3 separate regions of the Homo sapiens genome follow, and regions 1 and 3 are each linked to region 2. Evidence: promoter capture Hi-C in human tissues and cell types (Jung and others, 2019). All regions are on one chromosome and are shown on one strand. Each heading gives the region's core, a stretch centred on a gene start or on the middle of the fragment in contact. The rest is flanking DNA. Distances are from core to core; before and after follow the strand shown. Region 1 holds the start of EFS (embryonal Fyn-associated substrate). Region 2 holds the start of IRF9 (interferon regulatory factor 9). Region 3 overlaps ZFHX2 (zinc finger homeobox 2).

What was found. Contacts are between HindIII fragments. The study calls those that stand out against the background at their distance.
Region 1: the fragment with the promoter of EFS here is called in contact with the fragment with the promoter of IRF9 in region 2 in 1 of the 25 tissues and cell types used here (dorsolateral prefrontal cortex).
Region 3: a contact is called between a fragment that was not itself captured here and the fragment with the promoter of IRF9 in region 2, in 1 of the 25 tissues and cell types used here (H1 embryonic stem cells).

What each region holds. Positions count from the first base shown.
Region 1 is chr14:23,363,859-23,367,717 of GRCh38, forward strand. It overlaps EFS (embryonal Fyn-associated substrate), which reads right to left and starts at 1,314. Exons shown (of 6, transcript NM_005864.4): 1 at 1,150-1,314. The coding sequence starts at 1,167. RefSeq lists an enhancer at 1-412. The HindIII fragment of the contact is 8,966 bases long and covers 1-3,219 here.
Region 2 is chr14:24,160,015-24,163,831 of GRCh38, forward strand. IRF9 (interferon regulatory factor 9) reads left to right here and starts at 1,251. Exons shown (of 9, transcript NM_006084.5): 1 at 1,251-1,324; 2 at 2,130-2,310; 3 at 2,952-3,135; 4 at 3,364-3,494. The coding sequence starts at 2,131. RNF31 (ring finger protein 31) reads left to right here. Exons shown (of 21, transcript NM_017999.5): 20 at 225-393; 21 at 506-641. The coding sequence ends at 559. RefSeq lists enhancers at 978-1,367, 2,357-2,416. The HindIII fragment of the contact is 9,939 bases long and covers 1-3,817 here.
Region 3 is chr14:23,532,995-23,537,117 of GRCh38, forward strand. It overlaps ZFHX2 (zinc finger homeobox 2), which reads right to left. Exons shown (of 10, transcript NM_033400.3): 2 at 291-2,380; 3 at 1-90. The coding sequence starts at 2,331. It also overlaps a transcript of THTPA not described here. Among named protein-coding and RNA genes, the nearest start is that of ZFHX2, 17 kb to the right of the region's middle. The HindIII fragment of the contact is 6,986 bases long and covers 1-4,123 here.

The DNA of each region.
Region 1 (3,859 bases), core at 64-2,563, 800 kb before region 2:
AGGAGGTCGAGGCTGCATTGAGCCGTGATTGTGCCACTGCACTCCAGCCTGGGTGACAGGGTGAGACCTTGTCTCAAAAAAAAAAAAAAAATGGAGTTTGGTCTGAGAAAGAACCAAACTTGAACCTGTCCTCAAAGGGTATGGGAGGACATTGGGTGGCTCTGTGCTTCTCTTTCCAGTCTCTCTCCGAGAGTCCCCACTGAGAAGGGAACAGAAAGCAGGTGACGGCCTCGCTTCCCTGGGAATCTTAGGCAGGACCTAGAAGAGGGTGGAAAGGGAACAAAGCTGCCTGGATTCAGACTGCATAGACTGTAGAACAGAAAGCAGAGGTGGGGCTGTAGAGCGCTCCTCCCGGTGTTAGGACTGAGTTCTGTCCAATGGAGCCAAGCCTCTGGGCCCTGCCATTGCAGGACAGAGTTGTTGATGGACTGATTGATGATGGGTGTGACCACTCCTGCTCTATCCCCCAGCAGCCCAGCTGACTGGTGAGGGAATGGCCAGCCTAATGTAGGTGGCAGAGAGCCTCTGTGCTCTCTGGGAGGCCTCCTCCCACTGTCCCATCATGCCAGCTGTCTCCTCCCTTTGTCCCGATCCCTGGAAAGTGGCCTGAGGCTCTGGCTGACATCACCTCCCCTCCTCCCTCTGTCTTCTCTTTCTTGATCTCCCTCCTTTGCTCTATCTCCCTTTTTTCCTTATCCCTCGTCTCGAGATGGGCCTCCTGGGGTCGTTCAGCCTCTCGTTTTCCGTTTTCCGTGAGCCACTAGGTCCTTTCAGCCCCCTCCAAACCTTTTACTTGCCTCCCAACCACAAGCCTCTGCCAACCACCAGTGGCCATCTGTTCCCGCCCAAAAGGAGCAGATAGGACTCGGGCTACGCTTGCCCCTTCCCCTCCATTCAGGCGCAGCCTCTAGGAAGAAAAAGGAGAATGGGGAGGGGGCGGGGAAGAGGGGCGAGCCCGGAGCCAGGAGGAGCAGGGGATGAGGAGTGAGAGGGAGAAGGGAAACAAAAGTGAGAGGAGGGGGACACAGCCTCCTGGAGAAGAAAGGGACCAAGGAGAGAGACAAAGAGAGGGCAGAAATAAAGTGACAGGAGCGCAGGGCAGGCCGTGGAGGTCTCTCCCCGGCAGCCTCCACTCCCTGGTGGACTCACCGACGTGGCAATGGCCATGGCTTTGGCCTCCCGCGCAGCCTGCCTCAGGCCAGGCTCGGTTTTGCTGACTTCAGCGGTGGCTGCCCCGCACCATGGTCCGCGGCCTCTAGCCCCCAGCTGTGGCGCCTGAGTCGTGGCCTCCGCCAAGGTTGGAGGAGGAGAAAGAAAACCCACAAAACTTCCCAAATGAGAGGCAGGCTAGCCAGGCAGGAGGAGGAGCGGGGCGGGCCGGGGCGTCGCTGCGGGACGGCATCCAAGGGCGCGCGCTGCGTGCTGTCCCCGCGGCCTCCCGGGCGCCACCGGCTCGGCCAGGCCCCGGGAGCTGCCCGCCCTAGGCCGCGGGGGCGCCCCGGGCTCGCAGGATCCGAAAATTCCCTTCCCGGGCCGGGGCGGGTGAGCAGGCGGGCGCTGGGCTGCGCTCGACGCCTCTCCAGGCCGCTCAGGAGAGCCTCGAGGGCTGGGAGAAGCCGCCGGGGCGGTTGGGCTGGACGAGCGAGTTTAGGGGCCAACCGTCTCCACCCGCCGGCCGCGCTGCAGAGCGGTGCTCCCAGGGCTGGGGTCTGCGGCGACCCCGCTGGGAGGAAGGGAGAGCGAGAACTGAGACGCTTGCCCCAAGTTGCCTGGAGCCAAAGGCCCCCGAGAGCGTGGCCGTGGGGCTGGGTCGCTGGAGTGGCCGCTTCGGCCCAGACACTCGCACCCCCGGCGGTGCGGCGGTTTTCACGCGCGCACTCACTCAGCGCGCCCGGGGGTCTGAGGTCGCCGCTACGGCGCCTCGCCCCGGGCAGCAGCAACCAGCACGCAGGCACCCCTGGAACAGGCGGGACTGCCTTCCCGACGCGCGGCCTGCGCCCAGGCGGCGGAGGGGCCCAGCCCCCTTCCAGTCCTCGGCTCCAGGGCGCAGGGCCACGAGCTCCCGCTCCCACCCTCGGCCCCTGGCACCCGGCGCCGGCTCCGCCGCCCTCTCTCACACGCACCCTTGGCAGGGCCCCGCGGGGCGCCCCAAAGCTTGGGGGCAGCTCCCAGGTGTCTCTGGGAAGGGAAAGAAAGGCCACAAAGCAAAAGAAGGAGCAAAGAGAAGGCGAGGGAGGAGCAGGGGCCCGGGTCCTGTGGACTCGCCTGGGCTGGGAGTGGGGACACTGAGAGGGCTGCGAAGGCTCCGGGGGTCGCGCGTGGCCCGCAGGCTCACCCCTGGCCCGCGGCTGCCCTTCCCTCCCCTTCCTGGGCTCCTGGCCCCTCTCAGTGCTGTTCCTTTCTCCTCCCCTCAGGCCCTCTCCTCTCCCGCGCAGGGCTCCGTCCTGGGGATTAAGAGAAAGGAGGGAGGGGAAAGGGGAGGGGAAGGGAAGGGGCGGAGGAGAAAGAGGGACGATCCTTCCAAAGGCGGGTGTTGAGTTTCAGCTCAGGACCCTCGGGTCCAACTGCCTGTGGTACCCCCCACACCCCCCACCCCCGTCCCGCCCTGGCCCTGCCCCAGTCCCCGGCGCCTTCCTCCTCCGGACTCCGCTGCATGCCTCGCTTGCGGTGGTCCGATCGGCTTTCTCCGGGAGCTTTCCTCTCCCCGCCACGCCCCCGTCTCCCCGGCCGTCCCCGCGCCTCTCGGCCTCCCTTTCATTAGCCCCACATCTGTCTTTCCCATGGGAGGGAGCGCGCGCCTTCCGCCCAGCGGGGCCCTTAGCAGAGCCTCTCCAATCCTCGGCGCCTCCCCTACACAGGGTTCGCTGGGCCGTTCTTGCGGGGCACAGGAGGGGAGTCTGGCGCTGGACATGGATTCTGGCCCTAGTGACAACATGAAGCAGGGCGTCTGGCCCCAGAACTGCAGGCGGGCAGGTTGTGCGGCCTCTTACACTCCTCTGCCAGTCTGGGCCTGTCGGCCTCCTCAGCCTGGCTCACTCTTGCTGCTATGAGGAGAGGATTGGGCAGGACCGCTGGCACAAAAGTTGCTAGAACTCTTCCAGAGGAGATGGGATCTAGCCCCACCAGGAGTTTCCACTGAAAGGATGGTGCTCCTAGCCCCCTACAGCTCCTCTGCCCTGGGATAACTCCTTAGTGTGTGCTGCTTCCCTGGACCTTCCCTCTGGGACACACACATCAGGGCCTCTCAGGCTTGAGTGAAGCCTGCCTTCTTCCATTTTTGAGGTTCCTGGTATTTAAAAAGCAAGATGACAAACAGGATTGAAAGCTGTGGTATATTTTGGATGTTTACATTGAACAAATTAACGCTTCAAACACATACAATAGAGAATGACTCTGTGCATAACCTTATTTGGAGACAAGATCAGAAATGTAATATAAGGCCCTTGGTGAACTTGAGGCCCTGGACAGATAACCTTGCCTCAATATTCCACAGGCCCACACATCTAGGCATTTCCTAGGAGAGTGTGGTCAGGACACCTGCCCCAGCTCCTTCCCCACTGTATTACCTGGGCACCTGTGAAGAAACCTCTGCTGGAAGGGTGTGGTGGAGCCTATGGGGTGGAATAGGGAGAGATTCTGGGATAAACATGGGGATGGGGATAAACTGTGTTGGCTCTAGGCTGGCTCTCCATGATGGAAGACTCCTGAATAGATTCCAACTCCACTGGGATGGTAGAGGAACTTTTAAATTTCCAGGGAGAGCTCCTGCTTCCCAGCTCCAGTTAGGTTAGAGGTGGCCACTAGGGAAGATTTTCCAACCTCTTCCAGACCCCAGCCCTGGGGGACCTGGCTGCCAGGC
Region 2 (3,817 bases), core at 1-2,500:
GGCATGCCCAGGCAGTAAAATGGGTCCTTGGGAGCAGTAGGTCTTGCAGTGGGTGGGAGGGAGGAGGCTTTCTGGGCAAGGGCATGGGTAGATAGTAGCAGGCAGTGTGGGCACAGGTGGGTTGTTAATCTTGTTCGTCCAGGTGTCTCAGAGTCCAGCTATGTTAGACACACTCAGTTAATATTAGCCAACACAACAAATATTCTGCTCCCTTTTCTCCCCAGGGCACACTACAAAGAGTATCTTGTGAGCCTCATCAATGCCCACTCGCTGGACCCAGCCACCTTGTATGAGGTGGAAGAGCTGGAGACGGCCACTGAGCGCTACCTGCACGTACGCCCCCAGCCTTTGGCTGGAGAGGATCCCCCTGCTTACCAGGCCCGCTTGTTACAGGTATAGCCTCCACCCAGCCTCATCTCTTAACCCACCCTACAGAAGTCACCTGGTGCTGACTGTGTCTGAGCTCCAGGCTTCCAATATCATTACCTTCTCTCTCCTTCTGCAGAAGCTGACAGAAGAGGTACCCTTGGGACAGAGTATCCCCCGCAGGCGGAAGTAGCTGAGGGCAAGGGTCCCGATGAGGGTCCCATGGCCTGCTCCCTCAGGAACAGCTCCAGCACCAATAAAGAGGCATCTTACCACCCAGGCTTCTTGGTGGTCCTTCTTCCTGGTGCCACCATCTAGGGGCACCAGGGAAAGAGCGGGGTGAACAGAGCTTTGCTGAAAAGGGCCCCCTGCAACCTAGTGCCTGACCCTCCCTGGACTCAGGACCAGGAAGGAGTTGACACCCTGGATGGTCAAGGGAGGCCCTCCCCATCCAGCAGCCTGGCCTGGGCTTCCTCCCTCCCTGCCTCCTTTTTTCCTTTCATAGAATTTGACTGGTATTTGAAGTCACCCAATATGTATCAGGTGGGCACTGTGGGGGAATGCAGATGCACAGGTGTACACAGCAGTCCAGAGGTCCCAGGCCTGACTCCAGGAAACTGGCCTCCCTGGGGAAGCCACGGTGTCACCCAGAGGTCAGATAGAAGCAAGAGTATCTGAGGGAGGCAGGGGAATGAGCCAGGCTGGAGCTGAGCCAGCAGGGCAGGGCCCCCCTGCTGCGACAGTGGCATCCTGATAGTGAGATGCTCAGATGCTGCTGCCCTCTAGTGGCCGCCAGTTCCCTGCAACTCAGACCACGTGATTTCTGGGAAAAGGCCCTCCCTGGAGGAGAACTGAAACTTAGGGTGGGGACTGTAGAAAGGGGCGGAGAGATCAGCCGCCCAGCCAGGAGTTAAGCTGAGGTCGTCTGAGCCCTGCGACAGCCTGGACAGCAACTCAGGTAAGATCAGCCAAGGATGGGAGTCAGCCTGGGATCTAGGGCTAGAAAGTCCAGCCAGATTGAGGGCAGGGGGTCCTAGGGGTCGCTCTGTTAGACTGAGGGATAGACAGAAGATCTCTTAAGTCAGGAAGTGGGAGATTCAGCCTGAGAGTGAGACTGACAAGGGCCAGCTCCCCAGACCCTTGTAGGCAAAGGTCAGGAGGACCTACTGCTGGATTGTTCAAGGAAGAAGGCTCCTGGCCCCAGCCTCAGTGGACCATTTGTTTCCTTGCCATCTGGCCCTGCCCACTTCTGCTGCAGCTCCAACCCCACCCCTACTTCCTGCCCCACCTACTCCTGGGGCCGGCAGGGGGTGGGGGTCAGGCTAGGTTGTGTAGGCTGTGGGGCGGTGGGTGAAGAGCCTGATGGATCTCAGCAGAACCTACCTCTGCTGATGCTCGGGAATCTAGACAGGGCCTGTCACCAGGAACGATCACCAAAGGAATTCTTTTGTAAACAATACATCTCTGAAAAGTCCTAAAATTAAGACCAGTGCCCAAGGTTTCCTTCCAGGTATCACAGCTTAGAGTGCTAAAAACAATGTTTTGGGGGGTTTTGTTGTTGTTGTTGTTGTTTGTCACTGCTAGTGATGGCAGAAAGGAAACAATTCTGTCCCATAGAGTGTTGAAATGTGTTTGGAGCTAAAAGAAGATGGATGGGATCTCTGGGACCTGTTGCCAGAATCTAGTCTCAATGGCCAGGGTCTCAGGAGATGTTCCCTCCCAAAGTGTCAGTTCTGATGCATCCTGCTCCTATTATCCCCCAGGATGGCATCAGGCAGGGCACGCTGCACCCGAAAACTCCGGAACTGGGTGGTGGAGCAAGTGGAGAGTGGGCAGTTTCCCGGAGTGTGCTGGGATGATACAGCTAAGACCATGTTCCGGATTCCCTGGAAACATGCAGGCAAGCAGGACTTCCGGGAGGACCAGGATGCTGCCTTCTTCAAGGTGAAAGGGCCTGGAAACCACTGTTCCTCTGTGTGTGGGATGGTGTATACACACTGGTACACTCATCCTCGAGCACTTGCGTCTGCCTGGGTTTCAGATAAGGGACAGATTGGAGAGGAAAACTAGCTGCATCATTTGCAGAGTCCAGTACAAAATGAAAATGTGGAGGCCTTGTTCAAAAATTTTAGGGATATTGGCCAGGCACGGTGGCTCACGCCTGTAATCCCAGCACTTCGGGAGGCCAAGGTGGGTGGATCACGAGGTCAAGAGATCAAGACCAGCCTGGCCAACATGGTGAAACCCTGTCTCTACTAAAAATACAAAACTTAGCTGGGCCTAGCGGTGCATGCCTGTAGTCCCAGCTACTCGGGAGACTGAGGCAGGAGAATCGCTTGAACCAGGGAGGTGGAGTTGTAGTGAGTCGAGATCGCACCACTGCACTCCAGCCTGGTGACAGAGTGAGACTCTGTCTCAAAAAAAAAAAAAAAAAATTTCCAAGGATTTCAAGATGGCAACGCAGAGCACAGACCCTGCATAATCCCTTCTGAGCTCAGAGCTGCACGCCTGTAAAGCCAGTCCTATTGGAGGGGCAGGTGGAGCCTGTAACACACTGCCTCTTCTTCCCTTGCTTTCTTTCCTAGGCCTGGGCAATATTTAAGGGAAAGTATAAGGAGGGGGACACAGGAGGTCCAGCTGTCTGGAAGACTCGCCTGCGCTGTGCACTCAACAAGAGTTCTGAATTTAAGGAGGTTCCTGAGAGGGGCCGCATGGATGTTGCTGAGCCCTACAAGGTGTATCAGTTGCTGCCACCAGGAATCGTCTCTGGTGAGTTTCCCCTTGTCCAACCACTGCTAGACTCAGCAGACTGGGGAGGAAGGATAGATGTGCAGGCTTCCCCCAGGCTTATAGCTCTGCCCTGTCCATGCCCTTGGGGGGCTGCAACCCAGGTTTCCCTTCCTAGACCTGCCCATCCTTCACTGCCTCAGACCTCTCCTTCACCCTCTGTCCTTGCTCAAGACCCTGACCTTTCTCTGTCCCTCAACAATTCCACAGGCCAGCCAGGGACTCAGAAAGTACCATCAAAGCGACAGCACAGTTCTGTGTCCTCTGAGAGGAAGGAGGAAGAGGATGCCATGCAGAACTGCACACTCAGTCCCTCTGTGCTCCAGGACTCCCTCAATAATGTAAGAGATGGAGAGGGAACTGGGTGGGCCTAAGGGCAGGACAGTAACCAGAGGGAGAGGTGGGCCAATGAAAGACACTGTGTCTTGGGAGGCCGAGGCTGGCAGATCACGTGAGGTCAGAAGTTCGAAACCAGCCTCGACCAACATGGTGAGAACCCGTCTCTACTAAAAATACAAAAATTAGCTGTGCGTTGTGGCATCTGCCTGTAATCCCAGCTACTCAGGAGGCCGAGGCAGGAGAATCGCTTGAACCGGGGGGCGGAGATAGCAGTGAGCCGAGATCGCGCCACTGCACTCCAGCCTGGGCAACAAGAGTGAAACTC
Region 3 (4,123 bases), core at 1,193-3,692, 630 kb before region 2:
CTGGGGGTGGTGAGGTGGGCAGGCTGTCAGATGAGGAACCCAGGAGCTGACTTGGAGGCAGGTGGGCATCAGGGGATAGGCTTCCAGGGGCTAGAGGACAGAGACAGATTAGTGGCCCAAGAAAGAAATGGGGCACGGTTGGTTCTCTATGTGGGGAGGTGGGTTAATGAGTAGGATAGTGCTCAGAGGGACTTATGGTTACCTAAGTGGGGAGTTGGTCCTTGGGAGAAAGCACGGAATAGAGTTTGGCCCTGGGGAGGAGAGAAGAGGGAAGAAGCACAGAAGCTTACCGGATGTGGGGAACTTGCGGGCAGGTGCTCCTACGTGGTGGAAACCATTGAGAAGTAGCTGGGCTTCCAGGGGCTTGTCTGGCCTCAGCCCCGGGCCAGCCAAGGGAGTCTGAGGCTGCCCTAGGGCCTGGGGCCCAAAGTACTGGAAGAGTTCAGGGGGGCTAGTGGGGGTAGCCCCTGGTGGGGGAGGAGGGCCTGGCCCCATCAATCCAGGTGGCAGGCCCAGCGGCAGCCCCTGGTGCAGCATTAGGACATTCTGCATGTGCTTCTCAGAGGTCATATGGATGCGCAGGTTACGGGAGATGTTTGTCTCGTAGCTGCACACCTTGCACTGCCAGGATGATTTGGTCTTAGGCTCTTTGTCTCCCGCGGAGGGTGGGAGTGATGCCTCTGGTGGACTTCCCTGCCCACCAGGGCCCGCCTGGAAGCCCTGTAGGTTGGCCAGGTGCTTGTCAGACTGCATATGGATGCTGAGGTTGCCTTTGGTGGTTGTAGAGTAGTTGCAGACGTCACAGCGGTAGGGTTTGTAGCCACAGTTGTAGCTCTCTCCACGAGCAAGGCGGGGGTGGGCGCCCCCAGCACTGCAGTAGCTGCAGTGACTGTTGCTCTCAGGGTGCTTCTCTCGCATGTGCACATCCAGGGTCTGCTGGTACTTGTAGTGCCAGTTGCACTTGGGACACTTGAGTGTCTTGCAGGAGTTGCGTGAGTGGAGCAGGGACATGTGGCTGGACAGGCTGAGGCCCTGGAAGGCTGCAGGGGCTGGGGTGTAGTCATCAGCTAGGCGATAGGGCTGGGGTGGGTCACTGGGGTCTTCGGGGGAGCCCACTGGGGCAGGGAGAGTGCCCCCCTCCTTGGAGGTGGGTGAGCTTTGGTTGAGTGGGGGGCAGAGCCCTCCATCCTCTTCTTGCCCCTCAGGGAACCAATCTGGCCCTGCCTCGCCTGCTGCTACTGGCGATTCTTTGGCTTGGGTTGGGCTGGGGTCCCAGGTGGCTGTGGGTGGAGAGGGTGGGCTGAGGGCCATAACTTCTTCATCCAGGAGGATAAGGGCCTGGACTTCTGCCTCAGGGGGGCCATCCTCTGTCTGGGCCACATTCGCCTCCATGTTCACTGTGCTGCTGTTGTCAAGGGGTATGTCAGAAGAGGGGCGAGCAGGGAGTTTTGGCTCCAGAAAGCTTATGAGGGCCTTGCAGCCTTCATCTCCCTCCTGGAGTACAGCTGGGCTACCTGACAGGCCCTGATATTGGGCAGGGGTTAGCTTCACCCCATGAGACTGTGTGTGATCCATAAAGGCCTGGGGCTTGCTGAAACCCAGGCGGCACAGAAGGCAGAGCCAGAAGACCGCCACGTGGTTGCCCCCGCTGTTCCCCATGGGGCCATCTTTGGGATCTCCGGGTGGATTTGGAGCCAGCTGGTAGCTCCAGAAAGCTCCATGCCTTTCCTCACAGGCAGCCGGAGATGGTGCTGAGGTATCATGGGACAGAATTTGGTCAGAAGAGCTAAAGCCTTGGATTGGGTCAAAGCCATGTTGGATGTGAAGGGCAGTGAGGTGTGAGGGGGGTGGGTAGGCAAGGAAGGGCAGACTGGGCTCTTCCTTGATGCCCGCCTCACCCCAGGGGAAGCCCTTTGGTAACAGGAGTTCACTGCCACCTGGCAGGGACAGCTTGGCCACTAGGTAGGCCTCACCTCCAGCTGTGAAGAATAAGTGGTTGCTTAGGTCCATGGGAGGGAGCCCTTCTTCTTCCTCCTCCTGCTCCTTGTCCTTTTCCACCCCTGGGTCATTTGGTGGGAAGTGACCACAGTCAGGCCCTTCCTGGGGCTCCCCAATCTCCTTTGGTGGGACGAGGCCACAGCCCGACTCCAGGAGCTGTCCCCCTGGCTCTGAGGACCTCATGTTCTCAGAGGTGGAGGAGGCAGCAGGGGGATCTTTGGTGACAGGATCAGAGGGGGTGCTGGAGGAGAAGGTGTCCGAAGGCAGGGACGGGGCATTGTGCCCAGGGGAGGGGGTGGTACCAGTGGTAGAGGCTGAGTTAAGGGTGGCCATGGTAGACGGAGGAGTGCTGGGGGCTCATGTCAGCGTGACAGCCAGTACCCTGTAGGGAGACAAGGAGAGAGCAGTGCTGTGAGGCTGCAGGGACCCCAGCTGGGCAGCTGGATCTCTGGATACTCCTGCCCCATCCTCTTCCCTGAACACCAGACTCAGACACCACTTTGCTAACCTGAAATTTCACTTAGTGTCTAACATGCTTCAAAACTTAATATGTCCAACATCAGAACTCTTCATTTTATTTATTTTATTTTATTTTATTAATTAATTAATTTTTTTTTGAGATGGAGTTTTGCTCTTGTTGCCCAGGATGGAGTGCAATGGCGTGATCTCGGCTCACCGCAACCTCCACCTCCTGGGTTCAAGTGATTCTCCTGCCTCAGCCTCCTGAGTAGCTGGGATTACAGGCTTGTGCCACCACACCTGACTAATTTTGTATTTTTAGTAGAGACGGGGTTTCTCCGTGTTGGTCAGGCTGGTCTCTAACTCCCGACCTCAAGTGATCCGCCCACCTCGGCCTCCCAAAGTGCTAGGATTATAGGCGTGAGCCACCGCGCCCAGCCTAGAACTCTTTATTTGTCCCCTGAACCTGCTCCTCCCCATCTTTCCTATCTCCAAAGTTGGTACCAACATTTATCCAGTGGCTTAGACTAAAAACCCAAAGTTTTATCTTGCCCTCACCTACTGGACATATCCACTTCAACAGCAACTTCTAAAACATGTCAATCCCTCCATTTATCTCCTTCACTAACACCATCCTGGGGCCCGCTGAAATCCGGGCAGCACAGAAGGCAGGCCATTATCATCTCTTTCCTGGACTAACACAACAGATGCCACACTGGCCTCCCACTTCCACTACTGCCCGCTACAGTGTATTTTCTCTCCATCCAGCAGCCAGAATGGGGGCTTTAGTTTTTGCTCTATCTTTAGCACAGAAAACAATGCCTGCCACAGTCAGTGTCTTTTGAATGGCAGAATTCTAGGAAAGACCCTCAGATTTTCCATACCCTGACGAGGTAAATTCCCTAAGTCTTGCCAGAGATAGGGCATAATTGATTTCCCCTGGCATGCAGGCACCATGCTTCTCTCCAATGCCTTCCAGATCCATCTCTGGTCACAGCATGTGGAACAGATGGGAGCTTCTCTGGTCAGTTGAAAGATAACAGCTAGTCGGTTGCCTCCTCTTCCTCCCAAAAGAGGTAACAAATAATAAGTAATAGTAATAATATTACTAATAGTTATGTAGGTACATATACCATGGTCCTGGCACTATGTTAAATGCTTTATGTTAATCATCTCATTTAATCTCACAGCAACCTTATTTTATGGATGGGGCATCCAAGAAACAGAGATGTTAAGTGAGCTACTGAGGGTCACACAGCTCCAAGATAGTGAAACTAGAAATGGACTGATGAGGCACTGAGTAAACCCCAAAGTTGTGGTCTAGACTCCTCCACCCAGCTAGACTGTCCCTTGGACACAATACAGGTAAAATGAGACTCCAAAGGACTAGAAATGAGGATTCCAGTCTGGGCACGGTGGCTCACATCTGTAATCCCAGCACTTTGGGAGGCCGAGGCAGGCAGATCACCTGAGGTCAGGAGTTTGAGACTAGCCTGGCCAACATGGTGAAACCCTGTCTCTACTAAAAATACAAAGAAATTAGTTGGGCGTGGTGGTGCATGCCTGTAATCCCAGCTACTCAGGAGGCTGAGGCAGGAGAACAGCTTGAAACTGGGAGGCAGAGCTTGCAGTGAGCCGGGACTGCACCATCGGGACTGCACCATCG